Linked DNA regions of Homo sapiens: region 2 is linked to region 1. The links are contacts of gene promoters, found by promoter capture Hi-C in blood cells and fetal thymus (Javierre and others, 2016). All regions are on one chromosome and are shown on one strand. The core of a region is centred on a gene start or on the middle of the fragment in contact, and the rest is flanking DNA. Distances in the headings are between cores, read along the strand shown.

Region 1 (6,876 bases), core at 4,377-6,876:
CATCACCATTCCTGGCTAATTTTAAATTTTTTTGTAGAGATGGGGTCTCCCTATGTTGCCCATTCTAAAAATAATTTTAAAAAATAAATTGTGCCGTTACTGATGGACATTTGGGCTGTTTCCAACCATTACAAATAAAGCACCCCTATATATCCTCATCCTTGCTCTGGCCACTGTAATTCCGGTGTCTTTGTGCATTCCTACAGTGGAATTAGTGGTCAGAGTATGCAAATTGTAAAATTTGCTATGTAGCTAAATTGACCTTCAAAAGATTATACTAATTTGTATCTCCATAAGCTGTAACATAGTGTTTCCTATAGCCTCATCAACACTAGGTATTATTAAAAATGTTTAATTTATGCCAAAATGCATCTCCTTTTTTTTTTTTGAGACAGAATCTCGCTTTGTTGTCCAGGCTAGGGTTCAGTGGTGCGATCTTGGCTCACTGCAACCTCCGCCTCTCGGGTTCAAGCAATTCTCCTGCCTCAGCCTCCTGAGTAGCTGGGATTACAGGTGCCCACCACCATGCCAGCTGATTTTTTGTATCTTAGCAGAGGTGGGGTTTCACCATCTTGCCCAGGCTGGTCTCAAACTCCTGAGCTCAGGCAACTGCCTGTCTCGGCCTCCCAAAGTGCTAGGATTATAGGCATGAGCCACCATGCCCAGCCACATCTCTTATTTTTAACTGGAATTTATTTCTTTGCTAGTGAGATTAAGCATCCTTCCATATGGTTACTACTTTTATTTCTTCTTTAGAGCATTGCACATAGATTTCTTTTTCCCATTTAAAAAAAAAAAAAGGTTTCTGCTGGGTGCGATGGCTCATGTCTGTAATCCCAAAACTTTAGGAGGCCGAGGTGGGAAGATTGCTTGAGCCCAGGAGTTCAAGACTAGCCTGGGCAACAAGGTGAGACCTCGTTTCTACCAAAGAAAATTTAAAAACTAGCTGAGTGTGGGTGGTATACACCTGTGGCCCCAGCTACATGGGAAGCTGAGGCAAGAGGATTGCTTAAGCCCAGGAGGTCAAGGCTGCAGTGAGCCGTAACTGTGCCACTGCACTCTAGCCTGGGTGGCAGAGCAAGACCCTGTCTCAACAAAACCCCCAAAACCAAAAGAAAACAAAAAAAGCAAAGCAAACAACAAAAAAGATGGTTTCTTTTTCTTACTGTGGCTCTTTGAATTTTAAAGATATTAACTCTTTCTTACATATTGCGAATGTTTTTCCTAGGCTTTTTATTTTTTTAAATTTCTTTCACCATATGGAAGTTTGGAAATATTATATGGTCAAATTAGCTAATCTTTCCCAATATTCTTTGTCACTATACTACAGTGCCAACTGAAGTGGTGACAACTATGGCTGGAGGACGGTAATTAAAAAACAGGGAAGCTTCCTAAAAATAAGAGGTGAGGATAATGGGATGAATAAAGGGAGAATCTTTCATCTGAGATAAATACAAATGCTCAACTCCTACTTTTTTGTTTTGTTTTGTTTTTTTAAAGAGATGGGGGTCTCACTATATTGCCCAGGCTGGAGTGCAGTGGCTATTCACAGGTATGATCATAACATACGGCAGCCTCTAACTCCTGGGCTCAAGCAATCTTCCTGCCTCAGCCTCCCAAGTAGCTGAGACTACAGGTGCATGCCACTGTACCAGGCCTCAACTCTTATTCTTAACAACATGCCTCGGATGAGTAAAGTATGTTATACACAAAAAACTAGGGCAGGGAAATACCAGATCACTTCTGGAAAGCCCTGCCAAGCCCAGGGTGGTAGAGACAGGGTTTTTGCTTAATCCCTGGCTGCAGTTCCTGGGTAGGAGGGTCAATATGGAGGAAAGAATCTCCAAGGACTGTAAGAGTAGGGACAAGCCAGGATTGGGCGGAGGTGTCAGAAAGGTCTTACTTTCTGGATTACTGCCTAGCACACATGAAGCCCTTGCAGGACAGACTGCCAAAAGCTTGGTAGAAGGCTGTGCACCACTTCGCCAGCCTTCAATCAACATGCACCAACTGCAAACCAAATGACAACATCTCCAAGTATAAAAATAGGATGCTACCTTGTGTTCTCATCATATTTATACAGAATCAAAAATAACCCAGACAAAACCTCAGAGCTGCTTGTCCCACTGGCCTGCTTGCAACTGTGTTTGTACCTGGGGTCTCTCCAGGAGCACCTGGGGTCAGGGTTCCAGCTACTGTCTCCACAATGATCTCCATGTTCCCTGGTCCCTCTTCAGTTGCTGTGGCCTCTACCAGCAGGCAGCCTGGCTCAGTAGGTATAGGTGCAGGGTCCCGGGAAGGACAGGGGCTCTGGACAGGCCCCAGGATTCCACGGTTAGAGAGAGGCGGGGGGATCAGCAATAGCTCAGGGCACAGTCCATCCATCTCCCCGGTGCTACTGGCTGGCTGTGAGTCCAAAAGGGGGTCTGTCATCACCACCGACTTGTGTGTTTTGGCTTCTTAAATGCTGACAAGCCAACCAGAAGAAAAACAAAGTAAGGTTAGAGTTCTTACTTTCTTCCTGGCTGGCGTGGGTACACAGCCCAGTGCCCACCCACTTAGGCATTTTCTTGCATGGCAATATGCCATATATACCATATGAGACTAAATAGAGGCTTTCTTTTATGATAATGTTCAGAACAAAAAGTATAAAAATGATAACAGAATATTAGGAGACAGCCAACAAGTATTGGCCAATATATTAATGACTGCAGGTTGTCTTCTGCTAGCTAAGTGCCCTTAGCCAAGTCATTAAGCAATTTGGGTCTCAGATTTCTTATCTGCAACAAAATTAGGTGGGGCCCAAATATCTCAGAAGTCCTTTTTTTTTTTTTTTTTTGAGACAGAGTCTCGCTCTGTCACCCAGGCTGGAGTGCAGTGGCGTGATCTTGGCTCACTGCAACCTCCGCCTCCTGGGTTCAAGCAATTCTCCTGTCTCAGCCTCCCCAATAGCTGGACTACAGGCATGTGCCACACACGCCCAGGTAAATTTTGTATTTTTAACAGCGATGGAGTTTCACCATGTTGGCCAGGCTGGTCTCGAACTTCTGACCTTGGGTGATCTGCCCGTTTTGGCCTCCCAAAGTGCTGGGATTATAGGCGTGAGCCACCTTGCCTGGTCCCTTTCCCTCTTAACCTTTGATAATCTCACTATTCCTCAGCATGGATTATAAGGAAGGCCCTTCCTTCATCATCTGGCTCCTGCTGACCTCCCCTGACTCATCTCCCACTTCTCCCCTCAGCAGATCTCTGAACCAGATGATGTGCCATTCTCCAGACCCACCACATTCTCTTTTGCTTTCATACCCTCACAGCCTTTTGCGTCTCTTGGCTTGATATGCCTTTTCCCCTTCTCAATCTCTCTCTCTTATCTGGCTAACCAATTAACTATCCTTGAAGAAGCTGCACAAATGTCACTTCCACCATGAAGGCCTCCTGACATTCTTTTTTTTGAGACAGTCTTAGTCTGTCACCTAGGCTGGAGGGCAGTGGCACGATCTCAGCTCACTACAACCTCTGCCTCCTGGGTTCAAGCGATTCTCCTGCCTCAGCCTCCTGAGTAGCTGGGATTACAGGCATGTACCACCACGCCTGGCTACTATTTTGTATTTTTAGTAGAGATGGGGTTTCTCCATGTTGGTTGGGCTGGTCTTGAACTCCAGAACTCAGGTGATCCACCTGCCTCGGCCTCCCAAAGTGCTGGGATTACAGGCGTGAGGCACCGCGCCGGGCCTGGCTTCCCGAAACTCTTATCTTCTCTCTTCTGGCGTCCTAAGGGCACTCTGTACACAGCCCTATCAGAAACGAGGTCACACTGCACTGTTGTTTACCTGTCAGTCTCTCTCCCTAGATGTATAGCTTTTTTAGTAATTTGTTGACATTATCACTTCAATGATATTACTTTGTGATACTGACATTATCACTTCAACGAACACAAATCACCCACAATCGAAGATTCCAGTGAAGAACCACAGATATGGAGCTGCATTGGAGTAAAGCTAGGTATCTTGTACAAAACCAGTGGTTCCTCACCTATAACGTAACACATTTGGAGAAATTTCAAACTCATTAACTGACTATGGCCTCAAACTAAATATGGGAACATAACTGAGGAATGAATGACAATTGAATTGCATACCCTGTTATACATGGCTAAAATGAGTTTAAGCTGAATAATTAGTAATTAATAAGAATGATGGGAATCACTTCATGAAATTGAGTCACAGACAAGATGCAAAAAGAAAAAAAGAAGAAGAAACCAGGCCGGGCGCGGTGGCTCAGGCCTGTAATCCCAGCACTTTGGGAGGCCAAGGCGGGCCGATCACCTGAGGTCAGAAGTTCGAGACCAGCCTGGCGAACATTGTGAAACCCTGTTTCTACTAAAAATACAAAAAATCAGCAGGGTGTGGTGGCACACGCCTGTAATCCCAGCTACTCGGGAGGCTGAGGCAGGAGAATCGCTGGAACCCGGGAGGCGGAGGTTGCAGTGAGCCGAGATCGCACCATTGCACCCCAGCTTGGGCAACAAGAGCGAAACTCCGTCTCAAAAAAAAAACAAACAAAAACCAAGATCCTGCAATCTGATAGTCCCTATTTCCAGAATCCCATGGACTCAAAACAACAGATCACAGGGATTCACAAGGTGGCTGGAAAGTGCACTCCCGTGGTCAGAGGGATTCTCTGGAAACTGCAGCCTCCACTTACTGAATATTATCGCTGTTCTGGGGAATCTTCAAGCTTGACCATACATGGCCTCCGGGGGGAGCCAAGGAGGACGCTGAGCCGTCAAGATTAAGAACCTTCACCTGCGGGAGGGCAGGGTGAGGTAGGAGACAGGTGGGCACCAGAGAAGAAATACGCTTATCTTCCGGGCAGGAGGGCTGAGGAAGAGAAAGGACAGACTAAGGCAGAGAGAAGGCCTGGAGAAACAACGGGCCCCGGCCTAGCGACCCAGGTTCCCACCTGCCTCTGGCTCTGACTCACCGCGTGGTCTTGGACAGACACAGTCGCTTCGCTTCTCTGGGCCTCAGCTTTCCTATCTGTAAAATGGAGGTGATGACAGTGTCCACATCGTCGGGCAGGAGCTGGATCATAAGAGCCAGCGAACTGGAAAGGCGGTTTGTAACCTGGAAGGCTTGGGATGGAGCATCGTCATGATTTTGTCCTGAGAGCAGCAGGTACCCGGGCGGGGTCCAGAACCGTGACGCGACTGCAGCGCCGGGGCCCAGCTCGTCTGGGTGCTCCCTTCAGTACCTCCTTCCGAGAGTTCCCAGCGCCCAGGCCCACCCTGATCCCGGGGCTCGAAAAACTTTGCCTCCAGCTCGCTCCACCCGCATTCCCTTCCCAGTTCCGCCCCGCAGCCGCTCACTCACCTCCAGACCCAGAGCCGGCGGGAGCCGCATCTCTATGGTCGGCCGCGGCTGGAACGGCCCCCGGGGCCCGCTTTGTGCGACCGCCTCCGGCTCAGCCGCCTCTAGGATATTGGGGATGTGGAAGCCACTCTCTCTTCCTCTTGCCGGCTGCCGGGGTACTCTATGTTTTGTCTCTGTGGTTTTTCCCGCCCTCCACCCCCACTCCAGCCCTGAAGCCGGAGAAGCACCATCGAGAGCTCTGGGGTAGAGTGGCGTGGGCTTCTCTGTGGGTGTGGCGGGAAGTAGATGAAAGGACCCGGGGCGGGGCCGAACGCAGCTTCCCCAAGGTGCAGGCGCGGTGAAACCATCGAGACGGAGGGCCAGAGAGTCACGGCGGTGAGAGGGCTGAGTGACGGGTTACCCCAAACCATGTGGCTGGAGGCGCGAGCTGGGGTGTGGGCGAGGTTCAGGAGGGGGTTCCTGGGTGTCGCGGAGGGGCCGGGGACGGGAGAGCTTTGTCTGTGGCCTTCCATGCATAGGTGTTTTGGAATTCTGGATCCCAGTTCTGAGGCTCAGCCGAGGTCACTGCTGTCAGCTCACCTCCCTGCATGCCAGGCGCAGGGCAAAGTGGCCGGGGTTCGGGGTTGGAGGAGAGGTGTACTAGAAACAACTTTGCTCTTGTCCCTCAGGATCTTATTGTCTACGATGTGACGATCCGTGGAGAAAGTAGCAGATGGGCAGATTTTCATTTGGGGAGAATGAGGGAGAAAAGAACGGGCATTCCGAGCCAAGAGCACTGCATGAGCAAGGAGTTGGGAGGTTGCTTACTTGTTGAACATATTTGTTGCGTATTTGCATATTTGCTAAACAGGTAGTGTTAGGAGCTAATCCATGAAAGGTAGGTGGGCGCCGTATTGTAGAGAGCCTTGAGTACCAGGCTGAGTTTATACCCAATTCAGGGGTCTGCTGGGAGCCAGCCATTGAAGGTGCTGGAGCAGAGAGAGATATGGTATTGGAGCTGATCCCTATGATGAAAGATCTGGACCCTTGTGTAGATGTTCCGTGAAGCAGGAGGTGAAGACCTATTAAAATGCCATTTCAAGAACTACGATTTTAAAGACAGTTTAGGTGGGAGGTAATAAAGGTCTAAACAAGACGTTAAATATTGGGGACGTAAGGGGGAGGATATTTGAAGGACATTACTCATAACAAGACATAGGGTTACTGACAAGTCAACGGACGCTTCTCCCTTGCTGACTGCAGCCAATGGACCCCTTTTTATCATAGCTGGTCCCAGGGACCACAAAAATCCTGTCCATCCATTACCCTGATGTGAAGCCTGTTTATATAGCTCTTTTTGGTTTAAGGCATCTCCAGACATGGTCCTCTGGTAGGAAACAGGTATGAGTAGACTAATGAAGGACAAAATGGGATGAGGGACCTGGAGCCTCCACCCTTGCATTCCAATACCACCCTTACCCCACAAAAGGAGGGTATTGACCCACACAGTAATGCTGACCTGTGG
Region 2 (6,690 bases), core at 2,316-4,815, 240 kb after region 1:
ATTGCTCCAAGGGATGCTTCTTTCTTTTAATAGAGAATGATGTGTAGAAGCCAAGATCTGGGTGCTAGATGTGCTCATTGTTCCTGGAGTGTCATTGTTTCTGGAGTGTCATTGTTCCTGGAGTGTCATTGTTTCTGGAGTGTCATTGTTCCTGGAGTGTCATTGTTTCCAGACCTCTCAGTGGACAGTCCTAGGAAATATATGTATTATTATACACACATTTATGTCTACTATGTATCTATGTATCTATCCATCTATCTATCTATCTATCTATCTATCTATCTATCTATCTATCTATCTATCATCTATCTATTGATCTTTCCATGTAAAAAACAATGAGTTCACCTTTGATTCCAATCAAACACCACAGGGCTTATTTTTGTTTTCTCCTTTTCGATTTTTGTAACTTCTCTCTTTCTTCTTATTGGATTAATCCTTTGTAAGTAACTGGTTCATTGTCACTGCTGCTGCTCCCTCCACTCCTCTTGCAGACACTGTCTTGTTCCATCTTGGGCTCTCATAACCTATGCCAGCCCAATGTCCCCTCTGCCCCTGCATGGGTGCCTTGTCTTGCTTGGCTCTATGTTATGGCTTTTGAGTGAAATTATTCAAAAAGAAAGACCAGCAGGCAGGCAGGAAGGCTGGAAACAGTTTCACTATTCTTGGAGCTTTATTTATTTATTTATTTATTTTAAGACAGGGTCTCACTTTTTGCCCAGCCTGGAGTGCATTTATTGCAAACACAGCTCACTGCACCCTTGACTTCCTGGGTTCAAGAAATTCTCCTGCCTTAGTCCCCCAAGTAGCTGAGACTACAGGTGTGCACCATCACCCCTGGCTAATTTTTGTATTTTTTATAGAGACGGGTGTTTCACTATGCTGCCCAGGCTGGTCTTGAACTCCTGAGCTCTAGTGATCCACTTGCCTTGGCCTCCCAAAGCGCTGGGATTACAGACGTGAGCCACTGCGCCTGGCCATTCTTGGAGCTTTAGATGTACTTCTTAATCCTCTCTATTCAGTAAATGGCAAATGCTTTTCCAGCTATCCCCGTTAAAAAAAATCCTAGAGTCATCAAACCCATTGGCAGATCGTGTTAGTTCCCCATCAGTTTCTATTTAAAGTCTGATCACATGTCACTTCCTCCATCATTCCTTCATGGTCCACGCTATCATCATCTCTTGGCTTAATTGACTACAACTGTCTCCTAGTTGCTCCCCTTGATTCTGCCATTACACAACCCCAGTCTATTCTATACCCAGCAGCCCAAGTGATCCTTCTAAAGTGTCAGTCATGTGATGTGCCTCCTCTGCTCAAAAGTCTCTAAAGTCTTTCTATCTTACACAGGACAAGAGCCAAAGTACTAAGTACAAATTAGCCGGGCGTGGTGATGTGCACCTGTAGTCCCAGCTACTCGGGAGGCTGAGGCAGGAGAATCTCTTGAACCCGGGAGGGGGAGGTTGCAGTGAGCTGAGACTTACAGGTCACCATGACTTACAAGGCGTGATAGGATTGGCTCCCTGCTACCTCTTTCACCTCATTTTCTCCTCCAACTCTCTCTCATCCACTTTACTTTAGCCACACTGGCCTCCTGCAAATTCCTTGAGCAATCCAAACACTGTCTTGCCTCAGGGCCTTTGCACCTCCTCCCTCTGCCTGAAATCGGTTTCCTCCAGATAACCGCATGAATGTTGTCTTCCTTCATTCAGGACCTCACTGAAATATCTCCTTATGAGAGGGGCCTTGTATGGTGCCTCATGCCTGGAATCCCAGTGCTTTGAAAGACTGAGGCGGGAGGATCACTTGATCCCAGGAGTTCAAGTCTACATTGAGCTATGATCAAGCCACTGTACTCCAGCCTGATTGACAGGGCAAGACCCTGTCTCAAAAAAGAAAAAAAAACCCACACAAAATAAACATAGAAAAGAGGAGCCTTGGCAGAACATCCTGTATAACATAGCAAACTTCCTCTTACCTTTACCTTGCTTTATTTTTCTTCATAGTATAGATCACATATTTGACCATATTTGTGTATTTCTTTATGCTCTGCTTCCACACTCTATAATGGAAACTCTACGAGAACTGAGACTCTGTTGTTTTTTGCTGTATTTCTAATGCCAAGAATGGTATTAAGTACATAGTAGGAACTCAATAAATATAAGTGAATGAATGAATAAATAAATAAATGTCTACAGAAATCACTACTAACTTCTGTCTTCAGGCCCAAACTTCCTTCCTATGATCTTTCTTTTTTTTTCTTTTGAGACAGAGTCTCGCTCTGTCACCCAAGCTGGAATGCAGTGGTGTGATTTCAGCTTACTGCAACCTCTGCCTCCTGGGTTCAAGCAATTCTCCTGCCTTAGCCTCCTGAGTAGCTGGTATTACAGGTGTGCACCACCATGCCGGGCTAATTTTTGTATTTTAGTAGAGACAGGGTTTCGCCATGTTGGCCAGGCAGGTCTTGAATTCCTGACCTCAGGTGATCCACCCATCTTGGCCTCCCAAAGTGCTGGGATTACAGGTGTGAGCCACCACACCTGGTCTCCTGTGATCTTTCTTGAAGTTCCAGCTGCCAGCTAGACATGTTTTAATGTATGCCTGTGATACCACCCACTCAAGCTTTATTTTATTTTATTTTATTTTTGAGACAGAGTCCTGCTCTGTCACCCAGGCTGGAGTGCAATGGCGCCATCTCAGCTCACAGCAACCTCTGACTCCTCTGCCTCCCAGGTTCAAGCAATTCTCCTGCATCAGCCTCCTGAGTGGCTGGGATTACAGGTGGCCTGCCACCACGCCCAGCTCATTTTTTGTATTTTTAGTAGAGATGGGGTTTCACTATGTTGGCCAGGCTGGTCTTGAACTTCTGACCCCAAGTGATCCACCTACCTCAGCCTCCCAAAGTGCTGGGATTACAGGCGTGAGCCACCATGCCCGGCTCAAGCTTTATTAATGCAGATTCATTATCTTATGTATGTATTTGCTAAGGGCTGAGACTTTGTTTTGTTTACTGTTCTTTTCTCAATGCCTAGCACAGTGCTTGGCATAGACCAGGCATTTAATATTTGTTGAATAAGTGAATGAATGACTTTCCCCTCCAAACCAGTTCTCCTTAACTTGCTTGTTTCTCTTTGTCACATCATCATTTTCTTAGTCACTGAACCTCAAAACTGGTGTAAACTTGGACTCTCACCTTCTCTTCTCCTTTCTATATTCAATCAGTGGCCAAGATCTGCTTATTCTTCCACTTCATTCACATGGTCAATATCCTAGTTCACCACACACCTCAAACATCACAACGACCTTCCAACTAGCCTCTGTCATTCCTCTTTCTTCCTCTTCAATCCATCCCTATCCTATTGTTCTGTTTTTCTCTCCCACGAAGTGCTCTGATCATGTCATTTCCTCTGACTAAAGCTCTCAATGGATCTTTGTACCAATTTGGGTTCTTAATTGCAAACAACAGAAACAGACTCTGGTTCACTTAGTAGAAGAGGAATTTACTGGGATGACATCAGGGAACTCAAAGAATTGACAGGAAGCCTCAAGAATCAGGCTCAGGAAGCAAGCAGGAGCCAAGAGAAGCTAGGCAGCTAGAACTTTAGCTAAATCCTGTCCCAAGTGCAGCCTGATTAAGGGGCTTGGGGGCTGCTTCCCACATGGCTACCACCACCCTGAGCACTTGCTGCTGCCACCTCTGGGATGAATTATAAACAGTCCTCTTCCTCCTTGGGTCACTTGTTGAAGATTTAGAGTCCTGACTGGGAGCATTGATTTGGCTGTGATCTTCCTGCTAGGGGCCAGGTGAGCAAGTATCTGACTTCTCACTAAGACTCACATTAGGGAGGCTCCACCAACATATGAAGGGGGCTCAGATGCTGGGCAGCTAAAGACTCCAGTGTGTATCCATATGCAGGTTCCTGAGCATTGAAGCCCTCCACCATATGCCACAAACGATCATCTCCAGTTTTTTCTCACTTCCACACCATGTTCCACTGAAGCATGACTGTGTGCAGTTCCCTGAGCAGTCCTTTCCTGCCTCAGCCCCTGTAATAGCTGGGCCCCAAAGGTGGTCCGCCTTGAATCATGCTTCACACCTGTGTATTGTCCCCTCCCCTTGAAAGGGCCAGTCCATGCTTCCTTTTCACTGAGTGTGCTGTGGAAGCGAAGCTGCATGACTGCTGAAGAGAGGGAATAGGAAGCTTTGCAGTTTTTGCCTCAGTCGCTCGGAATGTTCACTCTGGGGCAAGCCAATCACCGTGTATGAGGTCTGTCTACCCAGAGACTACCATGCTATGAGGAACCCGAAACAAGCCACATGGGAAGGCTGTATAGAGAGAGTAATGCCTGGGCAGGCCCCTTCAGTTCCAGCCAATTCAGATGAGGTGCCAGACATGTGACTTTAAAAAGTCATCTTGGGGCTGGGCTCAGTGGTTCACACCTGTAATCTCAGCACTTTGGGAGGCCGAGGCAGGCGGATAACTTGAGGCCAGGAGTTCAAGACCATCCTGGCCAACATGGCGAAACCCCATCTCTACTAAAAATACAAAAAATTAGCCAGACATAGTGGCACATGCCTGTAGTCCCAGCTTCTCGGGAGGCTGAGGCATGAGAATCACTTGAACCTGGGAGGTGGAGGTTGCAGTGAGTGAGATTGCGCCACTACAGTCCAGCCTGGGTGACGAAGTGAGGCTGTGTCTTCAAAAATAAATAAATAAATAAATAAATTTTTAAAAAGTCATCTTGGATATCCAGCCGAGTTGAGCCTTCAGATGACTCCAGCCTTAGCCACCATCTAACTGAACTGCTTGAGAGACCCCACGTGAGAACTGCCCAGCTGACTGTAGTCAACCCACAGGACTGTGGGATGTAAATGGTTATTTTTAAGCCACTGAATTTTGGAGCGGTTTGTTACTCAGTAATAGAAAATGGAAACAGCCCCTCTGTGGTCCATGTTTCCCTCTCTCTGGAATGTACCCCAACTGTCCTGCCTTAGCTCCATGTCCACTCATATCTGCTCTTGTCAAAATCCTTCCAGTGAGCATGGCACAGTGCAGAGGAAAGAGCCAGGCTTTGGGGTCAGCCTGTGCGGCGGGAGGGATTGAATCCTAGTTTAGTCTCTCACTATCCCTGTGACCTAAGGCAAAGTCATTAAGTTCTCTGGACCTCAGTTTCTGTATCTGCTATATTGAAATAAAAACACTCATCTGCTGAAGTTGTTTTGAGGACTAGATGTAATATATGTAAAGTACCTAGACGTCTCACCCATTTTAGTCTCACTGAATGGTGGCCTTTAGCAGACACTTAGCCTTCTAGCCTGGCATCAAATGGCACTTCTGAGGTCTAATTCTCATCACTTATAAATTATATGGTTTTGGAAAATTCCTTAAATTTCTCTGAGCCTTACTCTCCTCATATGTAACATACCTAGACCCTTAAGCCATGTCCCTTAACCGGCATGGCATCAGAAATCCTTGGAAGAGGAAGTAAACCATGGCCACAGTTGGGGTTCCCCAGTGTCTGGTGGGCTGGGGGTCTGTAGTGGATGGCAGACTGCAGGGGAGGAACAACAGAGGCCGGAGAGCTCATCACCCTGAGTGAGAAAAAGGTTTCACTGGACAGGGAAGGGGTCCGCCGAACAGGGCAGAGGGAGGAGTGCTATTTGGAATGTTGTGAGGCTGGGCATGACCACTGGGGCTTGGTGCACCTCTACCCTCACTCCCTCAGGCCTCAGGGCCTTCCTGGTGGAAAGGGAAACATTTGGGGTATAGGGCAAGAACGGGCTCGCTAGGGCACAGACATCTCTGCTGTGGGAACTCCTTATGAAAGAGCTGAGAATGAGAAACAGAACATGCTTCCCCACCTCAAGGAGAGAGAGATGTCAGAGAACCATGGACCAGGGGGCAGGCAGAGAGGCAGCAAGTGACGGTGAGATGAGTGGCATTGGCAGCAGCCCCGACCATGTGGGCAGCAACCCCACCCGGCTTCTTCTCAGACTCTCACTGAAGGTGAGGGCACGTGGAGATGTGGGAAGTTCCAGATGAGAGCACACTGTATGATCCCAGTGGCAGCTGCAAAAACAGGCAAAGTTAACTTATGCAGTTGGAAGGCAGGATAGTGGCCTGTAATCCCAACCCAGGAGGTCGAAGCTACAGTGAGCTATGATCATGCCACTGCACTTAAGCTTGGGTGACAAAGTGAGACCCCATCTCCAAAAAATAAAATAAATAAAATAAAATAAAATAAATAAAATGAAATAAAAAGGCATGATAGTGGTTATCCCTGTAGGAGATGCAGTGAATAGAGGGAAACAGGAGAAGGGTTTGGGGAGCTGGTAATGATTTGTTTCTTCCTCAGGGACCTGATTACACTACTTTGTTCATTGTGTTAAAAGTTAAGTGCACATAGGATTTGTGTATTTTTCTGTACGTTACTTCAATAACAAGTTAAGTCTGGGTGTGGTGGCTGTAATCCCAGCACTTTGGGAGGCCAAGGCGGGTGGATCACGAGGTCAGGAGATCGAGACCATCCTGGCTAACACGGTGCAACCCCATCTCTACTAAAAATACAAAAAATTAGCCGGGCGTGGTGGCGGGCGCCTGTAGTTCCAGCTACTCGGGAGGCTGAGACAGGAGAATGGTGTGAACCCGGAAGGCGGAGCTTGCAGTGAGCCGAGATTGTGCCACTGCACTCCAA

What was found. The method cuts DNA at HindIII sites, captures the fragments that hold promoters and counts their contacts. A CHiCAGO score of 5 or more calls a contact.
Region 2: a contact is called between a fragment that was not itself captured here and the fragment with the promoter of ZNF142 in region 1, in 6 of 17 cell types (naive CD4 T cells, M1 macrophages, activated CD4 T cells and 3 more). The highest score is 6.5, in naive CD4 T cells.

What each region holds. Positions count from the first base shown.
Region 1 is chr2:218,653,997-218,660,872 of GRCh38, forward strand. It overlaps ZNF142 (zinc finger protein 142), which reads right to left and starts at 5,627. Exons shown (of 11, transcript NM_001379659.1): 1 at 5,373-5,627; 2 at 4,984-5,134; 3 at 4,705-4,880; 4 at 2,154-2,467. The coding sequence starts at 2,433. It overlaps BCS1L (BCS1 ubiquinol-cytochrome c reductase complex chaperone), which reads left to right and starts at 5,687. Exons shown (of 8, transcript NM_001079866.2): 1 at 5,687-5,747. RefSeq lists enhancers at 4,751-4,870, 5,681-5,810. The HindIII fragment of the contact is 10,571 bases long and covers 4,736-6,876 here.
Region 2 is chr2:218,900,982-218,907,671 of GRCh38, forward strand. LINC01494 (long intergenic non-protein coding RNA 1494) reads right to left here. Exons shown (of 5, transcript NR_110238.1): 4 at 5,858-6,065; 5 at 1-190. Among named protein-coding and RNA genes, the nearest start is that of WNT10A, 23 kb to the left of the region's middle. The HindIII fragment of the contact is 1,258 bases long and covers 2,937-4,194 here.